Linked DNA regions of Homo sapiens: all the other regions are linked to region 3. The links are contacts of gene promoters, found by promoter capture Hi-C in human tissues and cell types (Jung and others, 2019). All regions are on one chromosome and are shown on one strand. The core of a region is centred on a gene start or on the middle of the fragment in contact, and the rest is flanking DNA. Distances in the headings are between cores, read along the strand shown. Region 1 overlaps ACTG2 (actin gamma 2, smooth muscle). Region 2 overlaps TET3 (tet methylcytosine dioxygenase 3). Region 3 holds the start of C2orf81 (chromosome 2 open reading frame 81).

Region 1 (4,868 bases), core at 1,558-4,057, 500 kb after region 3:
CAGAGTGGGAGTGTCAGCCATTCCTCTGTGGAAATCTTCTAGTCAGATGCTATGACAGACAGAGGTGCCCAGCAGATAGGTTTCACCTAGTCCTCCACCCATTTGTGACTCCTCTTGGAGTATCCCACAGTTCCTTGCAGACTTTCACTTTTCCAGCTCCTTCAGTCTTTGGGGAAAGTGTCATTCCTGTAATAAAGCCCTTATTCCCATAATACCCATAATGGCTCTGCTCCCCTGAATGAACTGTATTGATACACCTAATCATAAAGGGAGACGTATCAAAAGGTGGTTAACAGTGTGGGCTCTGGATTCCAGTGACCTGGGGGTGAGGATTAAGAGAGAGAATCCACCTGCCACACCTGCCACACAGTTACCACCCAATAGACATTATATAACACATAATAAGTAATGGCTGCCTTCTTAGGCCCTCAGTGCCTGGGACATTGTTTCTCTCTCTCTCTCTCTGATAGGGTCTCGCTTGTCAGAGGCTGGTTTGAATTAGGCTCAAAGGATCTTCCCACCCCAGCGTCCCAAGTAGCTGGGATTACTGGTGTGAACCATCACACCTGACTTTTGTCGATCTTTAATAGACTTCCAGTTGGATTTCCACTTTCCTCAAGCCACTGTCCCTCTCTCTGTCAGTGGATAACTCCATATCCATTGAAGAATCTAGGTCAGCATTTTTTAAACTTGAAATAGAGTAAGACTGGAGTAGGGGTGGAAGGATGGGGAAGGGAGGTCAGATGGGTGCGGGGGGTTTGTGGGAACAGTCTGGGCAGCCTGCCCTTCTCCATGTGGAGGTCCGGATGCCCCTCTATAGCGCAGTGTCGGTGCCCTACATCTCAGATCGCTCCCGCCTCCTCCTGTGCCTTCTCTTCCAGCAACCAGAGCCTGCAGCTCTTCTTTGGAGGAGGCCTTTGCCGATACAGGTGGAAAGCCTAGGACTTCAGTCCTCCCAGGGAGCGCCCTCACCAACCACTGGCAGGTGGGACTGTGAAAGCCTGGCTCCCTGTCCTTCACCAGGCTAACCTTAGACTCCAGAGCTCCCAGTGGGCGGGGCCAGGCTGAAGCTGCCCTCTCCAGGACATTATCTGCAATTACCCCCTTGACAGATTTCCTCCCCTTTCCTCTTCTGCGCCCCCCTCCCCCGCACTCTGCTTACCAGCTGTCCTCAGAGCACTTCTTTAATAAGTCGTTTGCAGGGAATCCTCATTTCAGGGTCTGCTTCTGGTCCTCACACAGAAATCCCCTAAGGGCTTATGAAAGCCGCTCCTCCATCCCACCCCACCCACAGAGATCAAGTGCTGGGAGGGTGAAAGGAATGTCTGGCATTGAAGTGTCTGCGCTTAACCACTGGACTCCACTGTCTCCAAATGGGTATGTCTGGGAAGCTTCATGGACCAGGTGGGATCTGATGGGGGCACGAAGGCTGGGACTTTGCTAGGTGGGGAGGTGAAAGGTGCACCAGCCCAATGTGAGGATCTAGTTCTAAGGTGAACTAGCTGGGTGACCTAGTAACCAGTAAACTAGCTATAAAATGGGAAATGATGCTAGTACCTGCCTCATAGGGTTGTGGTGAGGATTAATTGAGGAAATCCATGCAAAACTCTTAACCTGGCCTGAATACATGTTAGCTATTATTATCATCCCTTATTTTCTCATAGTACTTTTAGGCGCTTGTTTCACTTCGTGTCACTGTCTTGTATGCATGTGTCTATCTCTGCCTGTATGCAGTGAGACCCTAATGGGCAGGAATCATCTTTGTTGGAAACATAAATCCCTTGTGGCCTTACCCGGCAATTCCAGATGCCAAAAATTCAGTAAATACTTGTAAAATTAAACAAAATTAACCTAGTGGGTAGGGAGGAAATTGATAAAGAGGGGAGGAGGAGGAGGAGGAGGAGGAGGAGGAGGAGGAACAGGAGAGGGAGGGAGAGAAAATGTCCTTCCTAACGATGCTACTCCTTTCTTAATTAATTTTGGGGCAAAATACAACCTGGCCAGGCGCGGTGGCTCACACTTGTAATCCCAGCACTTTGGGAGGCCAAGGTGGGCAGATCACCTGAGGTCAGGAGTTCAAGACCAGACTGGCCAACATGGTGAAACCCCATCTCTACTAAAAATACAAAAATTAGCCAGGCGTGGTGGCGCATGCCTGTAATCCCAGCTACTCAGGAGGCTGAGGCAGGAGAATCACTTGAACCCAGGAGGCAGAGGTTGCAGTGAGCCAAGATCGTACCACTGCACCACAACCTGGGCAAGAGTGAGACTCTGTCTCAAAAAAAAAACAAAAAAAAATACAGCCTAATCCTCAATGACAACCTCATAGAGATCATAGAGATCTTAAGCCCACGGTGACCCTCCTTCACGTGAGTGACAGTAACATTGTATGTGAACTCTTCATGTCACATCCCATAAGCCTATGTCACGACTGCGTTCATATTCCCTAGTGAACTGCCCTAGAGCACAAGGACTTACATCACTGAAAGTCTGTGTTTCTACCCCCATCCCAAGAGTCATCTAGCCTCATTCTTACTTATATTCAAGGAAAAGAAAACAAGATGACACAGTAGAAGGAGCACTAGCTTTGCAGTCAGATACTTGAATTTTAATCTGGAATCTGTGTGATCTTCGCAAGTCCTTGACTTCTCTGAGCCTCAATTTCCTCATCTGTAATATGGGTATAATGATAGCACCTACCTTACAGCACTATTGCATGGATTAAAAGTAATGTGTGAAAAGTCCTTAGCACTGTGTATGAGACATAGCCCAGGAAAAAAGAGCCCCACACAGAGAAGTAAGGCTTGTAGGTTTTAATGTTTCATGACTGGTAACAGAGTAGTCTCGAGGGGATCCTTGGAGAACCTGTTCTGACTTTAGAAGCACTTCCTGTGGACAATGGAGGGCCCTGCCTCATCATACTCAGGCTTGCTGATCCACATCTGCTGGAAGGTGGAGAGAGAGGCCAGGATAGAGCCCCCGATCCAGACTGAGTACTTCCGCTCTGGGGGAGCAATAATCTGCAAAGAACAAATGTGGTGAATCATGATCAGTCCCCAAGGGAATAAGCAAGGTGGTCCAAAAATCTACTTATCCCAGAAAAGGGGAGCCCCATGGTCAGAAAAGAACAGGAGAAACATTGTGATAGATTAGATTATTGCTCAAAACCTTCACTTCCCCCCTCTTCCCTTATTCCTTCCATGGGAAGAGTGCACTGCTCCCTGTAAGGCTGGGCATTGTGTTTGCTTTGACCAATGGGATATTAGCAGACATAACACAAACAGGGGCTTGAAATATGCTTGTGTACTTGGGCATGTTCTCTTGCTCTGCCATGTGCATGAGAAGAGCTGCCCCTGGGAAGCAGCTAGCCCTTCAGCCTGGGCCCATTAATGAGAAATATGGACTTGACCTGAGCTGGCTGGACCTGCAGTTAATTCAGAGCCACTTACTTAGCCAAGCCTGACCTTGATCAGCTAACTTCCAGGTGATGCGCAGATGCACGAGTAATAAATGCTCATTGTTAGGTGCCCCTGAGATTCCACGGTTGTTTGTTACTTGGCAATAGCTGACCAATACAAATATCTATAAGGGGAACCTTGTTCTGTTCTTGCCTGGAGTTTGGAAGCATGGGCAGGTTGGGCTGGGCTTCCTCCATGCCTGAGTATAAACCAGTCTACCCAAACCCTGTTTTGAGCTATCTGTCATCAGCCAATTATATCTCAGAAGTCCTCAAATTTATATCTACATTGTTCATGCTTTCCACTAGGAATCCTGGGCTTAGCTTTTAGAAATTGATTGTCAGGTCAAACAACTTTGAACTCTACTTCAAAGGGGATCCAGAAGGACTATGATTCTTCAACTAGTTTTCCAGTTTTGGAAGGGTCTAAGAATTCAGTGCTAGAGCAAACCAGATAATAAATTGATTTTTTTTGTTGCCGTAGAATCTCTTTACATATTCCCTAAATCACAGAGATCATGGAATTGTAGAATAAGAAGGATCTTTAGAAGTTATTTTATTATCCAGGCAGACAAAAGTCACACAAATGCTCCTTGAACAGATTATTTCAAGGACTGGGAATGCACAGCCACTAGCAAGGTAACAAATTTTATTGTTGGACACTTCTCATGAGAAAACTCTGGCTTCTCTTAGGTTGGTGGTCCTAAATATAAGCCCTACCCCCACCCCAAATCTGTTCTTCTGTGTCCTTGAGACTTGCCTCATCTCCCCCAGTTCCCCTATAACAAATCCTGCTGTCCAATTTGGATAGGTGCTCATATAAGCACACACCTGCCTGGACACATTTGCTCCTTCTATTTCCTCTGCTTAGAGTGTCCTTTCCCTTCCGCTTTTATTTAGATTGTCCTGGTATTGATAATGTTTACTAATTAGATCCTAAACTCCATGAAGGCTGGCACGTACTGTTTAAGTCAGAGCTGTGGCTCATGAATTGGGAAATGCATCAGATCACTGGTGGTTGTTTATCAGTGTAGGTGATGGGGGAGCAATTCAGACTTGTTGGACCAGAATCTGGGAGTGAGGCTAGGCGTGGTATACTGACACACAGTCCTGGTAAAAAGCCCCTGCCCCAGGCCTGGCACAGCTCTCCACAGGACAGGCCTCAGTAATGCACCATTCCTGTGGCTCTGGGTGAGAAGAGCCCACAGGTTCTCACCAGTTTCCTGCTGGTTTGCTCCATTTCTCTGTGATGAACACCATCTGTTAGGCAGGGGGAAGGCCCGGGGCAGCCTTCCTTCATGAAGGTTCTTAGAATATTGACTGAGAACACATTTCCTTACATCAGGCCTACTCCCCAGAGACCAGCTTTATTGTGAGACTTTGTAACTTTCAACCAATGTGATATTTCTAT
Region 2 (4,342 bases), core at 1,802-4,301, 320 kb after region 3:
GGTGATGAGGGGAAGAGTTTATTTAACATACATCAGGAAGATTCACACATGCCAAGTATCAGAATCACCTGGGTTACACTCGGGACCTTCCAAACCAACAGCCAACCTGGGGCTTCCACGGGTCATACAGACGGTCACATTCTCCAAATGTTTCGTAAAATATTGTATTTCTTGCTTAAGATCATTTAAAATGAAGTTTTCAAGGCACCCCCGCATCTACCTAAGCACGGAGTCAAATGAGACCTGCATAAAAGTACTGATGCGATAAGCAAAATAGCATTTAAAGGACCCAATTTTTCCTCAAAACTAGAAAATTAGCATGCTCATTAAAGACTCTGCTTCCTTTAGCTTGTCAAACTGAAGGTCAGAGGTTTTCCTATAAATCTGAGTTCTGAATAATTCTAAGTCCTGATAAGCTCTTGGGTATTTATTTCAAAAGCAATAATATTTCATTTTTTTGTCCTGTAAAATAAATGCAACTTTACAGAATATGGTAAAAGTGGAGGATAGACAAAGCACATTAAATATTCGGCTACTATTTACAATTTCTCCCACAATTACATGTTAAAACATACTTTTTTTTTCAAGTTGCTGTTTAAATCTAGGCAAAAGTGCTTAAAAAAATCTTTCACTATTTACAGTTAAAACCAGACCACATAAATGCTCAGGACATCTTACAACGACCCTCCGCCAGTGCTTCCAAACAGATACAGTAAACACCCAGCAGGCCGGTTCTCAGCTCTTACTCAAGGCACCCGGAAGCTCAGGAACTTGCCTATAGCGGTCATCTGATTGTTAAACATGATTCATGAAGACCCATATCTGAATACAACTGCTCAGTAAATACCTGTTCATCTCAGGGCTTGGTGGTCATCCACCGTGTGGCCACATTCCCCTCTGTGTGTCCTGATGAAGCCCCCCATTCACCACACACACATCCACATGGCTAGCATGAGATCATTTCTGCTAATATCACAAGAAAAACCAACACTCCAACAAAGTTTGACTTGGTGATGATGAGTGTTGCTCCCATCAGGCCCAACCTCTCTCGACAACGTCACAAAAATTAAGCACCACATTCTCATTTCAAAGAACCGAATGAATGCACCAGAATTTCAGAACAGCTATATTAAAGTGGATGAAGAGGGGAGAAAGGAAAAAAAGAAAATGATCAAATGGAGAAATGGCACCAATTAGGGAGGAAAATTATAGCAACCTGTTGAAAATGTTTGACTCTTGCACTTTAAAATTGTTAAGTGTAGGCCCCCGAACCCAATGACAGCATGGAGGAAGCAGGCTCAGGTGTGAGGCATGCACCATTGTCCAATGTGGAAATTCAGGGATCAGGATAGATGCATTAACTGTTGTTACACTGGTCTGCTGAGCTCCTGTAGGATGTGACCTGCCCAAGAGTCAAGAAAGTCCCAGCACAACACTACAGCACCAGGCTCCGCACAGCACCATGCACAGAGCACCACTGGCTTTTCACAGCTTGGGTTCAACTTCCTGTTTTTAAAGATACAGTAGCCCTTTTTCAGTATCAGCATAGACTTTGGGGGCATTTTTTAAAAAACTGCCACTAAGACAAATTCCTTCAGCTCAGCATGCATTGGCTTGGCAACATGGTGGGCACGGCCCCTAAGAACCTCGCACTCCAGCTCCAGCGTGAGGTGCTGCCTAGTGAACCATGACATCGTGTGACTCCATAAATAACGGACAGAGGATTCAGTGTGGAGACTAGCAAGCTTGAAGCCATCTACTTCCAACCTGGTTTCTGGGGAAAGCTATGCCAGCATCTCGTGGGGCTGGCCTGGGGTGCATCTGCCCTTCGACTCCAAGCCGGGGACTGGAAAAGGGACCCCAGATGGTTTTCTGCAGACTCTCCCATCCTATCAGAGAGGACAGAAGCTGTCCTGAGGCTCCCTTCCCCAAAGGGAAGGGGTGTATGTCGGGAGGGATGAACTGGGTGGCTACCGTCCGCGCTTGGCTCTCGAGGGGCAGATGGCTGAGGACCTCGCCAGCGCCCGAGGGGCTTGGCTCGCCAGACCCAGCGAGACTGGGCGGGGGAGCACTACTGGCCTTTCCTGCCCATCCTTTACCATTACTATTGTCGCTTTTAAAAAATCCAATAAATACACATTTTAAATGGAATTTAAAACTACTCCTTTGTGAAAGGATACTATAAACTTTCTTTCCATTATTGTGATATACAAGGATAGAGTTTTAAAAACAAAGAGAAAATAAAAATAAAAACCCCCCAGACAAGGGGGGGGGACAACTTGGAGATATAAATATTAAGATCACGGAAAAATCACCCGACAGCCGTAGTTTCTTCTTCAAAGTGCTGGGGAAGTGGGGGTAAGGGAGGGGCGGGTCAGTTCTGAGGTTTGGACCATAAATACATATATATGATATGCGCATCTATATATGTATATAGAGATAAAAAGACTTCTGCACCCCCAACCCGCCCCCAGGTATGAGGGCAAAAGCACCACAGAGACAGCTCGGGCCAGGCCCGACGCTGAGGTACGCTGGCTCCCTGGCACCTAGATCCAGCGGCTGTAGGGGCCAGTGACCTTCGTGTAGGCATAGGAGGACACGGTGACCGCCGAGTCTGTGGGCACAGCCAGTGCCTGCCGGGTGGGGACGACCCCCTTCTTCTCTTTCTGCTGGGGCTCAGCAACCACAGTGCCCCCCCACTTGCGCTTCTTCCCGTAGAGCTTGGCCTCCTGCTGGCCCAGGCCCAGCCGGGCAGCCTCCTCCTGCCGTGCCCGTGCCCTCTCCGCCAGCTGCTTCATCTTGGCTTCCCAGAGGGCCAGCCCGTGGTTGGGCTGGTTGAGGTTCTTGTGCTGGTAGAAGACCAGCGAGATGCGGGTGGGGTGGCAGCGGTTGGGCTTCTTAAGCGGCGTGGTGGCGTGCAGCTCCCGCCGGGCACACTCGATGAGGATGGAGCCGTGGGCTGGGGCCACGGCCACGCCGCCGATGTTCTCGTCCAGGAAGTTGTGTTCACTGTCCGACCACAGCTCCTCCTCTTCCTCCTCCGCACCACCACCGCCCTTCTCCTCCTTCACCGCTCCCTTGCTGGGGGGCTCCTCAGCCGGCCCCTCCTCCAGGCTGAAGGGGTCCCACAGCTTCTCCTCTGACTTCAGAGCCCCAAACAGCTTCTCGCTGGATCCCAGGGGCAGACCAAAGGACTGCCAGGCCCTGTCCAGCTGGCTGGCCCCTGCGGCTGGAATCCTGCCCTCCTCTCCTTTCATGGGGTTCCACAGCTTGTCTTGGAACCCAGGACTACCTTTCAGGGCCGAGTTGAAATCCCCTGCCCCCAGCGCCCACGGCTTCTCAGTCAGGCTGGGCCCAGCCAAGGCCGAGGTGCTGTTCCCAAACTTGCAGGGGCTCCACGGTTTGCCTCGCAGCCGTCCTCCAGAGTGGGAAGCTGCCTGCTGCCCCTCACCGGGGAACAGCCCCCACTGGCCATCTGTGAAGTGGGAAGGGGCCAGGCAGCTGGCCCCAAAGGAACTGAGCTTGTCAGGGACGATGGCAGGACTCTCCCCAGACGAGAACACACCCCAGCTGCCACCCACACCGTTAGTCCTCTTGGGGGACATGCTTGGGCCTCCTGAGTACTGTCCCCAAAGGTGACTGGGTCCTCCATTCTGAGACACCTCGGACAGAGGTGTCTTGCCCATCTTGCCAGCGTCTCTGGGCACAGGCTCAGCCTGGGTCAGCGGGTCTACTGGCTCTTGCTTGATGGATCTGTTGTAGCAGTTGGAGCTCTGGGCAAAGGGGGAGGGGTCCCTGGACACTGAGTGGAGTAGGGGGGCCTTGGGAAGCAGATACTCCTTGGGGCCTGGGTACGCAGGCTGCTGGTGGTGAGGAGTGGGGTGGTGGGCGTCTGTGGGAACAGCCTGGCTGGGCAGCTCGGCAAACTCAGCACCACCGTAGGCCGGGCTCAGGCTGTTGTGCAGAGCGTGGAGGTCTGGCTTCTTCTCAAAACTGCCACTGCTGCCACTGTGCCCCCAGGCACCAGGACCCAGGAACTGAGAGGGGAAGACGGGGTTGCTGGATGGAAAGCCATAGTAGCTAAAAGACGGGAGAGCGTACTTGGAGTGGAAGCCATTGACGGAGGTCAGGCTGGGCTGTGCATAGTAGGAGTGGTAGGAGTACACGCTGTTCATGCTGTAAGGGTCGGAGGGCCGGCAGTTGCCCAGCACCGAGTAGCTCTCCACCACCGCGTTGCCGCTGTACTTGAAGGAGCTGAAGTGGTTCTGCGGCTCCACCTTGAGGGAGGGCTTCAGGCCTTGCTGGGACAATCCACCCTTCAGAGACAGGCCTGGGGAAACAG
Region 3 (5,014 bases), core at 328-2,827:
TTATCCTAATTTTTTCAGAGGACAACAGTGAGAGTGAGAAGTTAATAGTGTAAGGACATACAGCTAGTAAAGGGGCAGATACTGGAGGTGGCACTTGGAAACTGGAAAAGATGGAAAGATTGAAGATAAGAAATAGAAAAAGAGTGAGTGGGCCAAGCATGTGAAAAGTCTGGAAGTGTTTAGAGGCAAGTGGGAAAGTCTGGAAGCCTGGCAGGGAAGCTGAGAAGGCTCTGGTGGGGCAAGCAGGAGAGTCCTCTTCTTACCTGTATTCCTCGATGTGAGGTGAGTACCAGCAGCACTCGGAAGGGGAGGACACACCAGTGGACCTGGAGGGAGGTGCATCAGTGTAGGGAGAAAATCAAAGCAGGGAAGATGAGTTTGTTTGTTTTTTTTTTTTTTTTGGGGGACGGAGTCTTGCTCTGTGGCCCAGGCTGGAGTGCAGTGGCGCCATCTCGGCTCACTGCAACCTCAGCCTCCTGGGTTCAAGCGATTCTCCTGCCTCAGCCACCCAAGTAGCTGGGATTACAGGTGCACGCCACCACACCCGGTTAATTTTTTTTGTATTCTTAGTAGAGAAGAGGTTTCACCATGTTGGCCAGGCTGGTCTCGAACTCCTGGCCTCAAGTGCCCGTCTCAGCCTCCCAAAGTGTTGGGATTACAGGCGTGAGCCACCGCGCCCGGCAGGAGAGGGGAGATTCTGAGGTTAGGACATGCCTGGGGAGATTCTGAGGTTAGGACATGCCTGCTCCTGAAGGTTTGGAGAGAAAAGGCTGGGGGTAGGACTGGGTTCAGCAACATCACTCCCAGCTCCATGCCTCACCTGAGTGATAAGTGGGGGACTCACTCCAGCACCCTCCTTAGCGTGGAGCTGGCGCTGGGCCAAGGGCACACCCTCAGGAGCAGCGCTGAGAAGCTGGGCGCTTGGTCCATGAACCACGCCAAAATACGTGAGGTTGCGAGCCGGCAGCTGCAGCACACTGAGGTTGTTGCACAGGGCGGCGGCCGAGCCTCGCAGGGGAATGGAGCGCTCCCAGCGGAACATCCTGTGTGGGGGTGCAGCCGAATCACCAGGCGCGCTACAAACAGACGCAGCGGAGATGCCCGAGGGCGGCTATCATCGAGCATTTCGGAAGATGCCTGAGACTGGGTCATAGGATGGGGTGCCCAGAGGACGGTGATGGGGGAGGGTCTCGAGGAGCAAGACAGGGGAGTCCCAGGGCTGTTTTGGGGCGACGGGGGAATCGCAGAGGAGGAATGGGGATGACACAGGACCACCCGATGGCCCCAAGCCCGCGAGCCAAATAAGTGTGATGAAGCCCCCAAGGCTTTCTCCCTCGGCTCGGATCCCTGAAGCCCCCGGCCTAGATCAGAGGTAACACCTGCAGCCCCAGATCGGCTCGCCTGACTCCTGGTTCGTAGGGTCCCTCCAAATCCGCCGCCACCATAGAGACGACGCACGTACGCACGGCCCTTGGGCGGGGTGAGCGGCCGGAACGTGCCGCGGGCGGCGCGGTTGCCGGGGCAACTGTGGGCGGGGCGAGCGACCCCGAGCCCGTGGTTGCCCAGGCGACTGTTAGGTGGCTTACGCGGCCCGGATGCAGCAGAAACACCAGCGTTGCTGCGACCGCGTTGGCGATGGCGCACGAAGGCTCGGTGAGCTTCAGTTCAGCTGGGGATGCGCCAGAGCCAGGGTCGGCCGTTAAGGTCGGTGTCGGGAACAGTGGGCTGGCTCTGGGCCGCCCAGTGCCCCTACTTGCTCCCGCCCACCGCGCGGGAGTTTAGATGACCAAGGAAGCCACGTCGGTACTCGGGCAGAAAACCTACACCTGCACGGTGCCCACTCAAACGCTTTGTTACACTCAAGCCATGAGGGAAAGGGTCAGTGGGTGGTGTAGAGCCCGAGAACAGGAAGTGGATTTTGAAACAGCTAATGAATGTAGTAAGTCTCTTACATGGTGGTGCGTATTTAAATGGATGAGCATTTAGAGAGGGAAGATAACAGAAAAAATCTATTTCGAGAATTTCAAGAGGAAGAAATATATTAAATAATTCAGAGACTGCACTTGAAAGTCAAATTGTTTAAGAGCCAATCAATTTTAAAATAAAGAAAACGGGGCCGGTCTCAATGGCTCATGCCTGTAATCCCAGCACTTTGAGAGGCTGAGGCGGGAGGATTGCCTGAGCTCAGGAGTTCAAGACCAGCCAGGCCAACATGGCGAGACCCCGTCTCGACTAAAATACAAAAAATTAGCTGGATGTGGTGGCGCGGTGCCTGTAATCCCAGCTACTCGGGAGGCAGAGGCAGGAGAATTGCTTGAACTCGGGAGGCGGAGGTTGCAGTGAGCCGAGATCGCGCCACTGCGCTCTAGCCTGGGTGACAGAGAGAGACTGTCTCAAAAAAAAAAAAAAAAAAAAAAAAAAAAGAAGAAGAAGAAAGAAAACGGATTTGAAGAGCCTTTGTGCAAAAATATCTCTGTCCCTTCTGGTCACCATCACGGGTGTCAGATGCGAGGCTGGGAGGGGAGGTCTAAGGAAACAACTCTCTTTACTCAGTCCAGTCAGCCCTGCTCTAGTCAAGCTTGGCCTGGGCTATGGGCCACTCCTGGTGCTTGCTACAGGGCTGTTCTCACTGGTGGATAGGGTTAATGAGACTTCAGGGATTTTGAGTTCTGCAAGACTTAGGAAACAGCAGATTTGGGGGGATAATGAATTTTAGGAAACAGATATGAGACAAGGTTTTAGCGGGGCAATAGGCAAAGGTTTGGGAAGATCACATTTGGAAGTACATTTTGGAAGGAACCAGGTTCAGGGAGACTGTTGTGGGGAATTGAGGGAGCTCCCAAGAGATTGTTTGTAAACTTTTTATGTCTCTAAAGTGAGTTTTGGGGACTAGTCTTTTTTTTTTTTTAAGTGATTACAAAAGGAAACAAACTCATTGTAGAGAACTTACAAAATAGAAAAGAGCATAGGAAGGAAACGTATCCTCTGTTATCATTTTGAAGTTTTCCTTTTGTTGAACACATAGTGGTTTACATATATGAGATCATAATTGATGTGTAAGTTTGTATCCTGCTTCTTTCAATTAACGTTACATCATAAACATTTGCTTTATGCCATTGCAAATTCTTTCTAAAGATTACCTTTAATGGCTGGGTTGGTGGCTCATGCCTGCAAGGTGGGCAGATCACTTGAGGCCAGTTCAAGACCAGTCTGGCCAACATGGCGAAACCCCATCTCTACTAAAAATAGAAAAAAAATTAGCCAGGCCTGGTGGCAGGCGCCTGTAATCCCAGCTACTCCGGAGGCTGAGGCAGGAGAATTGCTTGAACCTGGGAGGCAGAGGTTGCAGTGAGCCGAGATCTTGCCACTGCACTCCAGCCTGGGTGACAGAGCGAGATTCCGTCTCAAAAACAAAAACAAACAAACAAAAAAAGATTACCTTTAATCATTGCATAATATTTCAGTATATATAGCATGTCAATTATTTATTCTCTTTTTAAAGACATGTTTTCAATATTCTGCTATTATAAAAATACCGCAGAGAATTTGTTGGAGAATATATTTTTATCTTCATTTCAGAAAATGCCTTTTGGTTGTATTTATAGAACTGAAATTGCAGGGTTGAGGAAGTGAAAACATTTTTTAATGTCTTCATGCATACTGTTGCAGCATGGTATCACACTAAACCTTTGCCAATGCTGAGTATTCTTGTTTTTAAAATAATTCCAATTTGATGAACTAGAAATCAGAATGTCAATACTATATTTATTAGTCATCTACAGTCCCTCTCTTGTGAAATGTCATGTCCTTTGCTTATCTTTGGGATCTTAAATGGTTTTTCTTCTTATAGTTTAAATTTTTATTGCAATATAGCCCAAGCTGGACTTGAACTCCTGGGCTCAAGCAATCCCCCTGCCTCAGCCTCCCGAGCAGCTGGTACTGTGGGTGTGCGCCACTGTGCCTGGCCATTTTTCTTCTTCTATTTTTTATTTTATTAGTTTTTTTTTTCTTTTTTGAGACAGAGTCTCGCTCTGTCACCCAGGCTGGAGTTCAGTAGCATGATCTCAGCTCACTGCAAACTCTGCCTCCCGGGTTCAAGTGATTCTCGTGCCTCAGCCTCCCTAGTAGCTGGAATTACAGGCGCCCACCACCATGCCTGGCTAATTTTTGTATTATTAGTAGAGACGGGGTTTCACCATGTTGGCTAGGCTGGTCTCGAACTCCTGACCTCAAATGATCCACCCACCTCGGCCTCCCAAAGTGCTGGGATTACAGGCGTGAGCCACTGCGCCCGGCCATTTTTTTTTTTATATGAGCTTTTAATTTACTCGGGGATATTTATCTTTTTTCATATTTGTTGCAAATGTCTTTGAGAGGCTCTGGAGTCAGACAGACTTGCATGTGAATGCATTCTGACTTCACTACATCCTACTTGTATGATACTGGGTAAATTACCATAAAATGGAGATAAGAATAGTTGGTTAAAAAAAAAAAATGTAGAGAACTTTTTAAGCTCCCCTGAGCCGGGGCTGTGCTCTTCTAAGTGGGACTCCGAGCCTGGGCTATTTCTGGCGCTGGCGCGGCTCCAGGAAGGCATCCGCATTTGCGACCAGGGGCGGCTGCGGTGGAGACTGGCCTGTCCTCAGCGCCCAGCACCGCTGCTCCCGGCAAACCGGAGCATGCACCGCAGGCCAGCGGCCGAGTTCGCCCATCCCAGCCATCACTTTTCCAACTAGTCCTTAGAGAAGGGAAGATGAGCGAGTCGAGCTCGAAGTCCAGCCAGCCCTTGGCCTCCAAGCAGAAAAAGGACGGCACTGAGAAGCGGGGCCGTGGCAGGCCGCGCAAGCAGCCTCCGGTGAGTCCCAGGACAGCGCTGGTAGGGAGTCAGAAGGAGCTCAGCGAAGTGCCAACACCTAAGAGACCTCGGGGCCGACCAAAGGGAAGCAAAAACAAGGGTGCTGCCAAGACCGGGAAAACCACCACAACTCTGGGAAGGAAACCAAGGGGAAGACCC

What was found. Contacts are between HindIII fragments. The study calls those that stand out against the background at their distance.
Region 1: a fragment that was not itself captured here is called in contact with the fragment with the promoter of C2orf81 in region 3 in 1 of the 25 tissues and cell types used here (pancreas).
Region 2: a fragment that was not itself captured here is called in contact with the fragment with the promoter of C2orf81 in region 3 in 2 of the 25 tissues and cell types used here (aorta and ovary).

The regions. Positions count from the first base shown.
Region 1 is chr2:73,917,584-73,922,451 of GRCh38, reverse strand. ACTG2 (actin gamma 2, smooth muscle) reads right to left here. Exons shown (of 9, transcript NM_001615.4): 9 at 2,587-3,020. The coding sequence ends at 2,877. Among named protein-coding and RNA genes, the nearest start is that of DGUOK, 6.9 kb to the left of the region's middle. The HindIII fragment of the contact is 7,332 bases long and covers 1-4,868 here.
Region 2 is chr2:74,100,381-74,104,722 of GRCh38, reverse strand. TET3 (tet methylcytosine dioxygenase 3) reads right to left here. Exons shown (of 12, transcript NM_001287491.2): 12 at 1-4,330. The coding sequence ends at 2,547. Among named protein-coding and RNA genes, the nearest start is that of BOLA3, 45 kb to the left of the region's middle. The HindIII fragment of the contact is 4,695 bases long and covers 704-4,342 here.
Region 3 is chr2:74,418,182-74,423,195 of GRCh38, reverse strand. It overlaps C2orf81 (chromosome 2 open reading frame 81), which reads left to right and starts at 1,577. Exons shown (of 3, transcript NM_001316764.3): 1 at 1,577-1,653. The coding sequence starts at 1,636. It overlaps WDR54 (WD repeat domain 54), which reads right to left and starts at 1,466. Exons shown (of 10, transcript NM_032118.4): 1 at 1,380-1,466; 2 at 821-1,043; 3 at 264-326. The coding sequence starts at 1,042. It also overlaps the pseudogene HMGA1P8. RefSeq lists an enhancer at 787-966 and a silencer at 1,367-1,646. The HindIII fragment of the contact is 15,765 bases long and covers 1-4,728 here.